Regions from separate parts of the Homo sapiens genome. Here regions 2 and 3 are each linked to region 1. Evidence: promoter capture Hi-C in 16 types of primary human blood cells and fetal thymus (Javierre and others, 2016). All regions are on one chromosome and are shown on one strand. The core of a region is centred on a gene start or on the middle of the fragment in contact, and the rest is flanking DNA. Distances in the headings are between cores, read along the strand shown. Region 1 holds the start of DUSP2 (dual specificity phosphatase 2). Region 2 has its middle 6.2 kb from the start of LMAN2L. Region 3 overlaps FER1L5 (fer-1 like family member 5).

Region 1 (4,235 bases), core at 845-3,344:
GGTCATGGCCAAGAGTGCCAGGCCCCAGGGACTGTGCTATGAGAGCAAACCTTCAGCAATGCTCTCCCCACATGCAGAACTCCCCGGCAAGGTATACCAGATTCTCCAGAAGGAGGGGAAGAGGCCCAGCCCAGCATGGGAGTTGGGTCTGGAGCCCCTTACACGGCTGAGCTGAATTCACTCCTGAATCAGGGATCCCACCTGGCTGGGGTCCTCCCACAGAGCTGGAAGGCTTTGGCTCCTGGCCCAGCAGCAAGACTGGACCTGATTGTCCTTCTGCACGCTCTGTAATTTGCCCCTGGAATAAGCATTAAGTCATTTGGAGGCCGATGCCAAAGATAAGGGCTCATATCAGCCTTTGGGATCTGTGGCCCAGACTCCCTGGCTCTGTTGTGGGCTTTGCTGCCTCAGCCTCCAGACTGGCCTGCCAGGGACAGCGGGGCCTCAGCCAAGTTGCCCAGACAGTGGAGTAGCCTTAGAGCGTTGGAGCCAGTGTGGAAGAGCCGCTGCACCATGATGTGCTCCCCTTACAGATGGAGACACTGAGAGGGTGACGTGGCCCCAGGGACCTTTGGAGTCCTTGGGGCTTTTCTCCTCTGCATCGGCTCTGACCCCAGCACACACAAGCTCCAGCTCCTTCTCACACATAGTGGAACTGCACAGGTACGATGCTGCCCTGCACACAACCAGGCATACAGCACACTGCTGTGAGGAACTCAGGGCAGACAAGTCCAGAAGGGCTGCGGGCTCTCCACAGGTCCCAGCTGTCACTCTTCAAGACGGTCTGGACACAGGGGTCTGTGGGGGAGCCGGAAGGGTCTTTCAGAGGGCACGGAGGAGGGCCTCAGGAGACTGGGGGCTTGGAGGGTGGGTTCTGAAATCCCACGCAGCTGGGGGCAGGGCGAGGGCAGCTCCAGCGCAGTGACGCTGTCTCCACCCACCTCAACTTCTCTGCTTGAGTTTGGGAGTTCACTGCCAACAATTCTTGTGGCTCAGACACCCCACGCACACCTGGGCCTCACCACATCCGGCAGCAGGGCTGGGGGAGGGCGGAATGGAGGGGATACCCAGGCCCCCAGTCCTCCGGGTGCAGTGCTAGCCCTGGACTTTGCTGCCCGGCGGGGCTGGACAGGGAGGCCTAGGATGGGGGAGGCCAGTTCTGTTCTGCTTCTCCCTCTTCCCCTTGCCAAGGTCTTGAAATCCCCGCAGGCCTGGGGAGGGCCGGGAGCGTCAGCGGACTTCCCTCCAGGGCGGGCTTGTGGCAGGGGGAAGTACTTCTCTCTGGGGCCTGGGGGCTTTCCCTGCACCCAGGAGGAAGAAGCTTTGCCCTACACATAACTGGAAACCAGTCACAGACCCCTGCTTTCCCCATGAAAGGCCCTGGGACCCCCCCTCATTTCCCTTCGGCCCAAGCCCAGGGGCCTGGGCCCCGGGGACTGTGTTCTGGCCTAGCTTGGCCACCAACCTACTGCAAGACCCTGAGTACTGGTCTTATCCAGGCAATGGGGGGTGGGGAGGGGGAGGAGAGAGAAAGTCCCTCTGGCTCAAGGTCTCCAAATAGATGAGAAATAGGACATCTCAGCAGGGACCCCCCCCATCATCCAGTGTAGAAATCACCCGTGGCAGCAGGCATTTGTCAATGTTTGTGGTGACAAATTTCTAAGAGGAAAATTCTGGGAGGGAAAGGGAAAAGGCAGAGGAAGCGTGGGGTTAGGGGGTGGGGTACTCCAAGGGTCATCGTTGGCCCTAAAGGGGGACCTGCATCTGAGAAGCTGGGTTCCCCAGGACTGAGTGGCTTGGGACAGGTCAAAGGGTGGGCGCAAAAACGGAGGGGTGCTAGTCCCTCCGACTCCGGGTAACACCTTCCCTTCCCTTAGTCGCTGGTCCCCGCCTCCTCCCGGTGTGTTGGTCCCCGCGCCCTGCCTTCCCCCTCAACCTCCCCCCCGCCCCGAAGTCTCCAGGTCAGCCCAGACTGCGCCCCACGTGAGGGGCGGGGGCGGGCGCGGGCGCCAGCGCCTTCCTGCTCTGCCCTTGTATGGTGCCCCGGAGGCCGGCCCACGGGTACTTAACCCGGGCCGCCGCGGAGGGCGCCCGGAGTCGACCGCTCGGGCAGCGCCACCGCCACGAGAGCCCGGGACGCGGGAAAGACCGAAAGGAAGAGGAAGAGGCACCGGTGGCCATGGGGCTGGAGGCGGCGCGCGAGCTGGAGTGCGCGGCGCTGGGCACGCTGCTGCGGGATCCGCGGGAGGCGGAACGCACGCTGCTGCTGGACTGCCGCCCCTTCCTGGCCTTCTGCCGGCGCCACGTGCGCGCCGCGCGGCCAGTGCCTTGGAACGCGCTGCTGCGGCGCCGCGCGCGCGGCCCTCCTGCCGCCGTTCTCGCCTGCCTGCTGCCCGACCGCGCGCTGCGGACGCGCCTGGTCCGCGGGGAGCTGGCGCGGGCCGTGGTGCTGGACGAGGGCAGTGCCTCGGTGGCGGAGCTCCGGCCCGACAGCCCGGCTCATGTGCTGCTGGCCGCGCTGCTGCACGAGACCCGCGCGGGGCCCACTGCCGTGTACTTCCTGCGAGGTGAGCAAGCCGGCCGCCCTTGGCCCGCCCCACCCGACTCCAGCCCGGCTTTCCCTGCTGATCGTGCTCTTCCCCTCCTTGCAGGAGGCTTCGACGGCTTCCAGGGCTGCTGTCCCGATCTGTGCTCTGAGGCCCCCGCCCCTGCGCTGCCGCCAACAGGGGACAAAACCAGCCGCTCCGACTCCAGGGCTCCTGTCTACGACCAGGTGAGTATTGACCCCCCTCCCCCGAACCTCCCTCTCTCCCCGCCGCGGACTGGGCGCCTCTAGGGAAAGAGCCTGCCATTTGGGGATGCGAGCAGTTTGCCCATATACACACACTTTTATACGTGTGTGTGTTGGGGGAGGGGGTGGGGCATGGCTGCTCGCGCGTGCCTGTATGGGTCTGTGTATGTTTGCATGTGTATGTTGGGAGCATGAAGGGAAATGTATGTCCCGGTGTGTCCTCCGCACATTCCTGAGACCTGTCTCAGGTCAGGAGGACTGGCTGAGGAGTCCTCTTGTCTCGGCCAGCCCATGGGGTCTCCACCCGCTGCTGCTCCAGCTCTCCGGGGCTGGGCTGGAAAGGCCTCACCGCCCCTCTGTTCCCTCCAGGGTGGCCCTGTGGAGATCTTGCCCTACCTGTTCCTGGGCAGCTGCAGTCACTCGTCAGACCTGCAGGGGCTGCAGGCCTGTGGCATCACAGCCGTCCTCAACGTGTCCGCCAGCTGCCCCAACCACTTTGAGGGCCTTTTCCGCTACAAGAGTATCCCTGTGGAGGACAACCAGATGGTGGAGATCAGTGCCTGGTTCCAGGAGGCCATAGGCTTCATTGGTAAGGGGGCACCTCTGCCCAGAAATCCCGAGGGGCTCCAGAGGAGAGGACTGGGGGCACCTGTCTCCTGGGCTGTGCACATTCCGTCTGACACCACTCCCCCATCTCCCTTGCAGACTGGGTGAAGAACAGCGGAGGCCGGGTGCTGGTGCACTGCCAGGCGGGTATCTCGCGCTCTGCCACCATCTGTCTGGCATACCTCATGCAGAGTCGCCGTGTGCGGCTGGACGAGGCCTTTGACTTCGTTAAGCAGCGCCGGGGGGTCATCTCCCCCAACTTCAGTTTCATGGGGCAGCTGCTGCAGTTTGAGACCCAGGTGCTGTGTCACTGAGGTGGTGCCCCTCTGCCTGCCTGCCCCACTGTGCTGGCAGGAGCTGACTGTGGACTGGTGGGCTCCCCTCTGGGCCAGCACAGTCCCCTCACCTCTGGCAGGGCTGCTACCTCCTCAGAGTTTCAGAAGCCCCCACATGGGGGCTCTAGGAATGCCGGCATGCTGGTCTTTCCGACCTGGTGCTCTTCTGCTGGGGGACTGAGGCTGGCCCTCATTCGGGGTCGGGAACCAAGGGTGTGTCTGCTCTTTCCCTCCCCATCCTCTGGCAGAAATCAGCTAGACGCTATACCGTGGACTCTCCCTGGTCCACCACCATGTTGAAGCCCTTGGCAGCCTGAGAGCTCCAAGGAACAAGCTGTGACAACCAGGAGCCCTGTCTGTGGGTTCGTCTGCCCAGGGCCTGGAGCCCAAGCCCTGTGTTCCTGGGGAAGCTGGGGACTTGGGAAGTGATGGGTGTGTCATGTTGCGTGTGTCTGTCTGTGAGCCTTTCACACCTGTGCTGGCGCTGGAAAATTATTTGTGCT
Region 2 (4,235 bases), core at 1,063-3,562, 600 kb before region 1:
TGCTCCTACCCTTTCTACTCTACAGTCACTCCTCAAGTCAGTAGCCAGAGTGATCCTTTAAAAATATAGGTTAGATTACAACCTCCTCTGTTCAAAACCTTCCAGAGACTCTCCATCTCTTTTATTTATTTATTTGAGACAGAGTCTCGCTCTGTCGCCCAGGCTGGAGTATAGTGGCGTGATCTCGGCTCATTGCAACCTCCACCTCCTGGGTTCAAGCGATTCTCCTGCCTCAGCCCCCACAAGTAACTGGGATTACAGATGCGTGCCATCATGCCTGGCTAATTTTTGTATTTTTAGTAGAGACGGAGTTTCACCGTGTTGGCCAGGCTGGTCTCAAACTCCTGACCTCAGGTCATCTGCCTGTCTTGGCCTCCCAAAGTGCTGGGATTACAGGTGTGAGCCACTGTGCCTAGCCCAGTCTTTCATTTCATGCTTTCAGAAGTCCAGTGTGGTGGGTTTCATCACACTCATTTTACAGACAGAAGATCTGAGACTCAGAGAGATTACGTAATTTTCCTGAGATCATACAGTACAGCTGGGTCTCAAAAGGCAGAAGTTTCATTCCAACTCCAATCAGATATGCCAGAGTTCTCCTCCTTCACCACACCCCATTCTACGATCCTTGGCGAATCTTATGCCCTAACTCTGTGGGAAGCAAGCATCTGGATCCCCAGAGGCATTGCTGAATTGTGGGAGCTCTGCCACTGCAAGGAGAGCCACCATAGATCTGAGATCTGGTCCTCAGGATACTGGTTTTTATCAATTCCCCTGCAAATAAACAGACTGGGAGGGCTAAGTCACTCTGGCTAAACTAATAACTAAGTGATAAACCCAAATACACACTAATTTCTTAATTTATACAGAAAAATTAAACTGCTAAGAGGATTAGAACGTTAGGCTGGAAGTCTTTATAAATACGCTCAGAAAATAGGCTTTATTTGAATAAAGTTATATGGAGATCTAACACAGGCTGCTTAGAAGCACTCTCTTTCCTGGACAGAACTGATACAACTCTGACTTATTTTCATCCCTTGACTGTTCTTTTTCTAGATTGCAGACGCCTCTCTCTTTAGTTATGACAACATTATATTGGATGGGTCACAATGAACTTTACTAGATTATAGTTAATTACAGTTTTCCTTCCCTCAGGGAAATTTAGAAAACACCACAAATGCATACCCAGCATATTTCCTCATCATCTCCACGGGAGACTTTGAGAAGCTTTTCCTTACGGCAACTCTCACACATCCATGAAGCTGGAGGGAGTGTTGTGCACCCCTATCTCAGCTGCAGCAGTTCTCAACATCCTGATGCTTTTTTTGTTTATCCATCCTACCCTTCTAAACACACACACACGATATTCCTCTAGAGTATCTTAAAGCAAATCTTTAATTCTTATCTTTAAATTCAGGAGTTGGAGCCTCTATGAACTGTTCTTGTCATTTTTTTTTTTTAAGAGATAGGGTCTTTCTCTGTCACCCAGGCTGGAGTGGAGTGGCCTGATCATGGCTCACTACAGCCTTGACCCCCGGGGTAAAATGTCGCAGCCTCCCAAGTAGCTGGGCCTACCGGCGCACACTAGCACACCCAGACAATTTTTTGTATTTTTTGTATTTTTTAGAGACGGGGTCTTACTATGTTGCCCAGGCTGGTGTCAAACTCCTGAATTCAAGTGATCCTCCTGCCTCGGCCTCCAAAGTGCTCGTACTGCAGGTGTGAGCCACTGAGCCCAGCCTGTCCTAATCTTAAAGATTACCACAACAAGTCATTGTGAGGTCAAAATGAGATACTGCATGTGAAAGGGCTGTAGTTCTGAAAACTGGGCTGCGTATTAAATTCTCTGGTGGAGGGTGGGGTGGGCACGATGGCTCATGCCTATAATTCCAACACTTTCGAGGGCCAAGGTAGTAGGATGCCTCGAGCCCGGGAGTTCAAGACCAGCCTGGGCAAATAGCAAGACATTATCTCTACAAAAAATAAAATAATAGCCAGGCATGGTGACACCTGACTGTATTCCAACTACTCAGAAGGCTAAGGCAGGAGGATCCCTTGAGCCCAGGAGTTTGAGCCAGGAGAATCCCTTGAGCCCAGGAGTTTGAGGCTGCAGTTCACACCACTGCACTCTAGCCTGGGTGACAGAACAAGACCCCATCTCTTAAAAGAAAAAAAAAAAGGCCAGGCATGGTGGCTCACGCCTGTAATCCCAGTACTTTGGGACGCTGAAGTGGGCGGATTGCTTGAACCCAGGAGTTCGAGACCAGCCTGGCCAACATGGTGAAACCCCGTCTCTACAAAAAATATAAAATTTAGCTGGGTGTGGTGGCATGTGCCTGTGGTCCCAGCTACTCAGGAGGCTGAGGTGGGAGGATGGCTTGAGCCTGGGAGGCAGAGGTTGCAGTGAGCTGTGATCACACCACTGCCCTCCACTGGGTGATAGAGTGAGACTCTCTCTCAAAAAAAAAAATTAAATTCTCCAGGTTTTATTTTTTTTTCTTCAAAGCTAAATCCCTACACTTGTTGAGTCACGTGTCTGGCAGTAGGGCTCAGGCAAAGGTACCTACCCCAGGATATTTGACTGTGGCTTTCAGGAGTCCAATGTTGAGAAGTCACCGCTGGGAAGTAGCTAGCTAGTTAGTGTTGGAGCTGCTATCCTCTTGTATGCTTCAGTGGCTACCTGGGGAACTGGAGGTACAGTTGGTAGGACCCGGTCAGCTGTGACTATTGGGCTGAAGATGGACCTGACACACTGGATACCTGAGGATGGATGGATGGTTGTACTTGGCCTAGGGAGGGCTGCTTCTGTCCTGGGAGGGGGTGGATCAGAATTGAATGGCAAGGTTTGTAAAAGAAGGGTGAGAAGCAGTGGAAAGAATAGGCCAAGAGGCTGCCCTGGAGCCTCTGTCATGGGGTGAAGGGGCATCAGGCTTCAAGGTGCTCCTGAGTGGAGGTACTTCTTTGGTTGTTGTTGTTTTTAATTTTTTAAAAGGGACAGGGTCTCAACATCTTGCCCAGGCTGATCTTGAACTCCTGGGCTCAAGCGATCCTCCCAAAGTGCTAGAATTACAGGCATGAGCCACTGCGCCCAGCCCTGCTCTTTGGTTTGGAAGACAGGAAGGTAGAGGAATCATGCAGAACTGCTGGAATGCACAACTCACATTGCATATGAATACCCCGGCCCTGAAGTTGTGCAGCCCTAGATCGTGGGAGATAGATGATTCCACAGAGAAAAAGGGGACCACTAGGCAGCTGAAAGGATGGTAGCGCAAGACCTGAGCCAGCTTTCGGAGGTGCCTCTGCGTGTGAGTAAAAGGTGGCGTTGAAGGGGCCATGGCTACTTGTTCTCTTTCCCACTACCACCCCTCAACACCTTGACTGTGTTGAACTTAGCTGAAGCTTGTGCTTCTGAAAAGCACCTACAGTAAAGAAATTCCCCATCCTTTTGTCTTCCTTCCATCTCACTTTGTAGACTCCGTTGTCCAGGCTGGAGTATAGTGGCGCGATCTTGGCTCACTGCAACCTCTGCCTCCCAGGCTCAAGAGATTCTCATATCTCAGCCTCCCAAGTAGCTGGGATTACACACACGTGCCATGATGCCCGGCAAATTTTTTATGTATTTTTAGTAGAGACAGGGTTTCACCATGTTTGTTGGCCAGGCTGGTCTTAAACTCCTGACATATGATCTGTCCGCCTCAGCATCCCAAAGCGCTGGGATTACAGGCATGAGCCACTGCGCCCAGCTGAGAGATGGCTGTCTTAACGGACTACCCTGCTCTGGAATATCCCAAGATAAGACCCACTTCCACCCTTCCTCAGTGACTCAGATAAGACCCTCTCCATCCTTCCTCTCACGAAAGATCCCTTGTTTACCTGGATTACCCCAGGTCTCCTTCCTTTTGTTTTGCTTTGAGATGGAGTTTCACTCTTGTTGCTCAGGCTGGAGTGCAATGGCGTGATCTCGGCTCACTGCAACCTCCGCCTCCTGGGTTCAAGCAATTCTCCTGCCTCAGCCTTCCAAGTAGCTGGGATTACAGGCACCATGCCTGGCTAATTTTTGTATTTTTAGTAGAGACAGGGTTTCACCATGTTGGCCAGGCTGGTCTCGAACTCCTGACCTCAAATGATTCCGCCCTCCACCCCCACCTCGGCCTCCCAAAGTGCTGGGATTGCAGGTGTGAGCCACCGAGCCCCGCCTGTCCTTCCTTTCCTTTTTTTTTTCTTTTGAGATGGAGTCT
Region 3 (4,235 bases), core at 1,167-3,666, 520 kb before region 1:
CCTGAGGTCAGGTGTTCGAGACCAGCCTGGCCAACATGGTGAAACCTCGTCTCTACTAAAAATATGAAAATTAGCCAGGCTTGGTGGTAGGCACCTGTAGCCCCAGCTACTCATAGCTTAAACCCAGGAGGCAGAAGTTGCAGTGAGCCGAGATCGCGCCATTGCACTCCAGCCTGGGTGACAAGAATGAAACTCTGTCTCAGAAAAAAAAAAAAAAGATGAACAAAGAAGATGAACAGAAGATGAAAAAAGAAGATTTCCCAAGGCTCTGAACAGCCACAGAACATCTGAGGATCCCAGCCCTGTGCCCTCATCACAGGCCGGAAAAGGTGGGAGGGAGCTTGGCAAGGATGGGGGATGGACTAGGCCTCCTCTGAAATGTCTTCCTACTTTCAGAGTCTATAAAATCATCCAAGGAGGCAGGGATTATGAGGAATGGTTGAAAGTGATGACTCACAGGAAGGCAGACTGGGTAGCTACTAGAAGCAGCAAGGAGGGGAGTTCACAGGAGGGAGAAGGGGAGCGCATTAGCTAATTTTGTATTTCACAATGTAAGGTATGAGGAAACAAAACATTCTCTGGGTTGCCAAGTCCATGTCACACAAATTCCTGTGTGCCTGCACTTATGAGAGAGCTCAAGTTATCTCTCAGCTCAAGTTCTCTCTCAGAACTGTGTTCTTATTTTACACACTGCTCTTAGAAGCCTGACTTAGAGTCAAAAGGCCAGTAAGACTCCGCCTTCAAGAGAACTGTCATCCACAACAGCTGATAGGTGACGGAGACAGATTGAAAGGCGATCAAAATCAGACTACAGAACCCCAAAAAGAAAGCATCTCAGAGCCATTTAGTGCAGGAACAAGTAGCCCGGTACTGCAGATAGCCCAGGATAATAACTATGTTCCCATAATGGCTCCAGGCCATCAACAAAAAGCTCTAATTATATTCAGGGCAAAGTTGCTGAGAAGATAAGAAAATGTATATTATCATTTAAAATGTGTCTTTAAAGGGATTTGTTTTGTTTTTATATGTGGGTGAAAGGGCACATTTAAGTTCTCTGGAAAGTTCAGTTGTATGACCCACTCATTGCTTAATACATCTACCATAGAATCTAGTCATTCTGCATCTACATATTTACCTAAGAGAAATGAAAGCATATGTCTATGCTAAGGGTTGTACACAAGTGTTTACAGCTTCATTGTAACAGCCCCAAACCGGAAATGTTCATAAACAAGGAAAGGGATAAGCAAACTGTGGTACATCCATACAATGGAATATTACTTAGCAACAAAAAGGAATAAACCACTGATACACAGCAATGGCATGAATGAATTTCACAATAATTATGCTGAGTGAAAGAAGTCAGACAAATAAGGGTACTTACTGAACGATTCCATTTCTATGAAACACTAGGAAATGCAAGCTAATACGTAGTAACAGAAAGCAGATTGTTGGTTGCCTGGGGATGGGAGGGGGTGGAATAGGAATCACAGGGAGGGATTCCCAAGAGGCATTAGGCAACTTTTGGAGGTGATAGATATATTCATTATGTTGATTGTATGATGGGTTTCCTGGATGTGTACATATTTTAAAATGTATCAAATTGTACATTTCCTTTCTTCCTTCCTTCCTTCCCTCCCCTTCCATCCCTCCTTCCCTCCCTCTCTCCTTCCTCTCTCTCTCTCTCTTTTCTTTTTTCTTTTATATTTTCCTGAGACTGAGTCTCCCTCTGTTGTGCAGGCTGGAGTGCAGTGGCTTGGCTTGGGCAACAGGTTGTTATCACCTACTTAGCTGAAGTGTTTGCTCAAATAAGTAGGTGATACTACCTCGGCTCAGCTCACTGCAACTTCCACCTCCGGGGTTCAAGCAACTCTCCTGCCTCACCCTCCCGAGTAGCTGGAACTACAGGCGCATGTCACCACGCCCGACTAATTTTTATCTTTTTAGTAGAGTCTGGTTTCGCCACTGTTGTCCAGGCTGGTCTCAAACTCTGGAGCTCAAGTGATCTGCCCACGTCAGCCTCCGAAAGTGCTGGGATTACAGGTGTAAGCCACCGTGCCCAGCCAAATTGTACATTTTAAATATCTACAAGTCATACATACCATTGACATAGGTACGTCAATGATAACTCAGTAAGCTGTAAAAGGTAAAGTTTTCCATAATATGTCCTGGGCTTCCTCATGCTCCCTATCAGGCAGAGTCCCCCTTGCCATGCTTTTTGGCCCCCACCCTCTGTCTTCACCCCCACACAATCATCCAAACTTCCCTTCTATGTTAGGGGATGTGGGAGAAGGGTGGGCATGATGGAGGAGCCATACCTGAATCCGGAAGGTCAGGATCTGGTTCCATATCGGGTTGTCGGTTTGGGTCTGCATGTGTGTCCTGAGCTGGAATGTCCCAAAGCAGTGTTGGTGCCAGCCTGCCCCCTCCTCCCTCCACTGACCTCACCTTCCAGCTCTTCCTGTCCAGCCTCCCAGTGGACACCACAGCACAGAGGTGCTTGGGCTAATCCCTGCTCTCAAGACACCTGCACAACTTCTCAGCAGCAACAGCGCCAGTCCTTTGTGTACTTACCCGAGGTGTTTGCCAGATTCAGATTCCTCATATTTTTCCTTAAGTCAGCTTTCAATAGACTTCATTTTTAAATAGATATAAGGCTACTGACCTTACTATATGAGTGTATAGACATATATTTTGCTAGATAAATTCTGAGATCCCAAAAGAAAAATGGGCAAAAACACAGCTAATGGCAGCAGCATGCCTGTTTTAAAACCGTCAGTTGAGTTTATGTGTAAGCAGTGGTATCTGTGGAATCAAGTGTTACTTGGCCTTATTAAACTTTTTAAGGTACACTAAGATGAACACAGAAGTATCAAAATTTTTGAGAACTGCGTGTCACTTACCACCTGAGAACGTTTCACCTAGCTTTGGGGGTACCCAACCACTCACTGGGAAATACTCAGTATGGTGGTTTTAAATATGTTCACAAATTCTTTGGTACTCCTCCCTTCAAAAGATAGACATTATTTTCTCTCCGCTTATGTGTGGGCTGGATTTAACGACTTGCTTGCAACAAATAGAATATGGTAGAAATTCTGCTTGGCAAATATGGAAAATATCTGTTTAACTGTAACCTAGCATTGTCCGAATTTGAACATAGGACCCTTTTTTACCCATGACACCCATCAGCACACTTTGGAAAATGCTATTCCGTATTCATAGAGGTTCATGGAATGTCAGCAACTCTCTTGCCCAGAACCTTCGTTTACACATGAAGAAACTGAGGGGTGGCGACAGTTTCGATGGTGTTCACTCATTGGCATGTTTCATTCACGCACTCATTCTTCCACGTGTATTTGGTTTTTGGGGGGCATCTGGCATGCAGAGAATAAGACGTGGCCTCCGCCTGCACAGAGTTCCAGGTGCAGGGGTGCATACTTCTCTCAGTGGGTGACTGGGAGATGATTCCTGTGGTCTTGCCCACCAGGCCACCCTCCTCTCCAAACTACTTTCTCTAGATGCCAATCTCTCTGGGTCTCAGAATATTTCTACACTTACCTTTTCCCCAATTAGTTCCACCTCCAACTGAGGATTCACTGACTGGTGTTTCTCTATGAACAACAAGTTAAAAGATATCTGAGCCAGCAGCATTTTTCAGGAGGAGGAAATAGGGTGGCGACAGAACAACTGAAAACCCTCCCCTATAATTTAGAGGGGTGCCCCCTGGGCAGACCTGTCTCCAGTTCCCACCATGCCCCTTCTTCTTCCACACAATGGCATGGGGTGGGGGGACATAGGGAGCCTTGAGTTTGCATCTGGCCATCATAGACAGGCTGGGGGTGTGAGACCCGTTTGAAAGGGTGTCCATGGCACCTCCACAGGACAAGTCTGGGAGCAATTCCAGTCTCACCCTGTCCCCCCTACCCCAAACAGTAGTTTAGTGCCAAAAGGAATGAGGAAACTCCATGAGGATCCAGGGTATCACCGTGTAGGGAATCTCAGGGCTGCTCCCTCCCCTGCACCCAGACTCTAACTGAGGTGAAGGTCCTCTGCGCAGTAGATGAAGAGCTGTAAGTAAGCCATGTTGATCGGGACTACCGCTGACTTGAAGATCTGAATATCGGTGTCATCGGTGCCATAGAGCAGCTTTTGATCTATCTGGAGAGACCAGAGAGCTGATATAGTCAAGGTAATGGGGAGGTCACAGGCAAGGACACCAGACTTTGCTTCTCCAACTT

What was found. Contacts are between HindIII fragments. The CHiCAGO score rates a contact against its expected background, and 5 or more counts as called.
Region 2: a contact is called between a fragment that was not itself captured here and the fragment with the promoter of DUSP2 in region 1, in 2 of 17 cell types (total B cells and monocytes). The highest score is 6.4, in total B cells.
Region 3: a contact is called between a fragment that was not itself captured here and the fragment with the promoter of DUSP2 in region 1, in 1 of 17 cell types (monocytes). The highest score is 5.7, in monocytes.

What each region holds. Positions count from the first base shown.
Region 1 is chr2:96,143,299-96,147,533 of GRCh38, reverse strand. It overlaps DUSP2 (dual specificity phosphatase 2), which reads left to right and starts at 2,094. Exons shown (of 4, transcript NM_004418.4): 1 at 2,094-2,567; 2 at 2,652-2,773; 3 at 3,161-3,380; 4 at 3,497-4,235. The coding sequence starts at 2,180. The coding sequence ends at 3,711. RefSeq lists enhancers at 1-124, 535-1,414, 2,211-2,712, 3,115-3,164 and a silencer at 1,725-2,484. The HindIII fragment of the contact is 7,151 bases long and covers 1,324-4,235 here.
Region 2 is chr2:96,744,193-96,748,427 of GRCh38, reverse strand. No RefSeq gene overlaps it. Among named protein-coding and RNA genes, the nearest start is that of LMAN2L, 6.2 kb to the right of the region's middle. The HindIII fragment of the contact is 2,172 bases long and covers 1,227-3,398 here.
Region 3 is chr2:96,661,588-96,665,822 of GRCh38, reverse strand. It overlaps FER1L5 (fer-1 like family member 5), which reads right to left. Exons shown (of 53, transcript NM_001293083.2): 12 at 4,032-4,155; 13 at 3,556-3,608; 14 at 2,316-2,384. Among named protein-coding and RNA genes, the nearest start is that of FER1L5, 21 kb to the right of the region's middle. RefSeq lists an enhancer at 3,759-4,235. The HindIII fragment of the contact is 7,223 bases long and covers 1-4,235 here.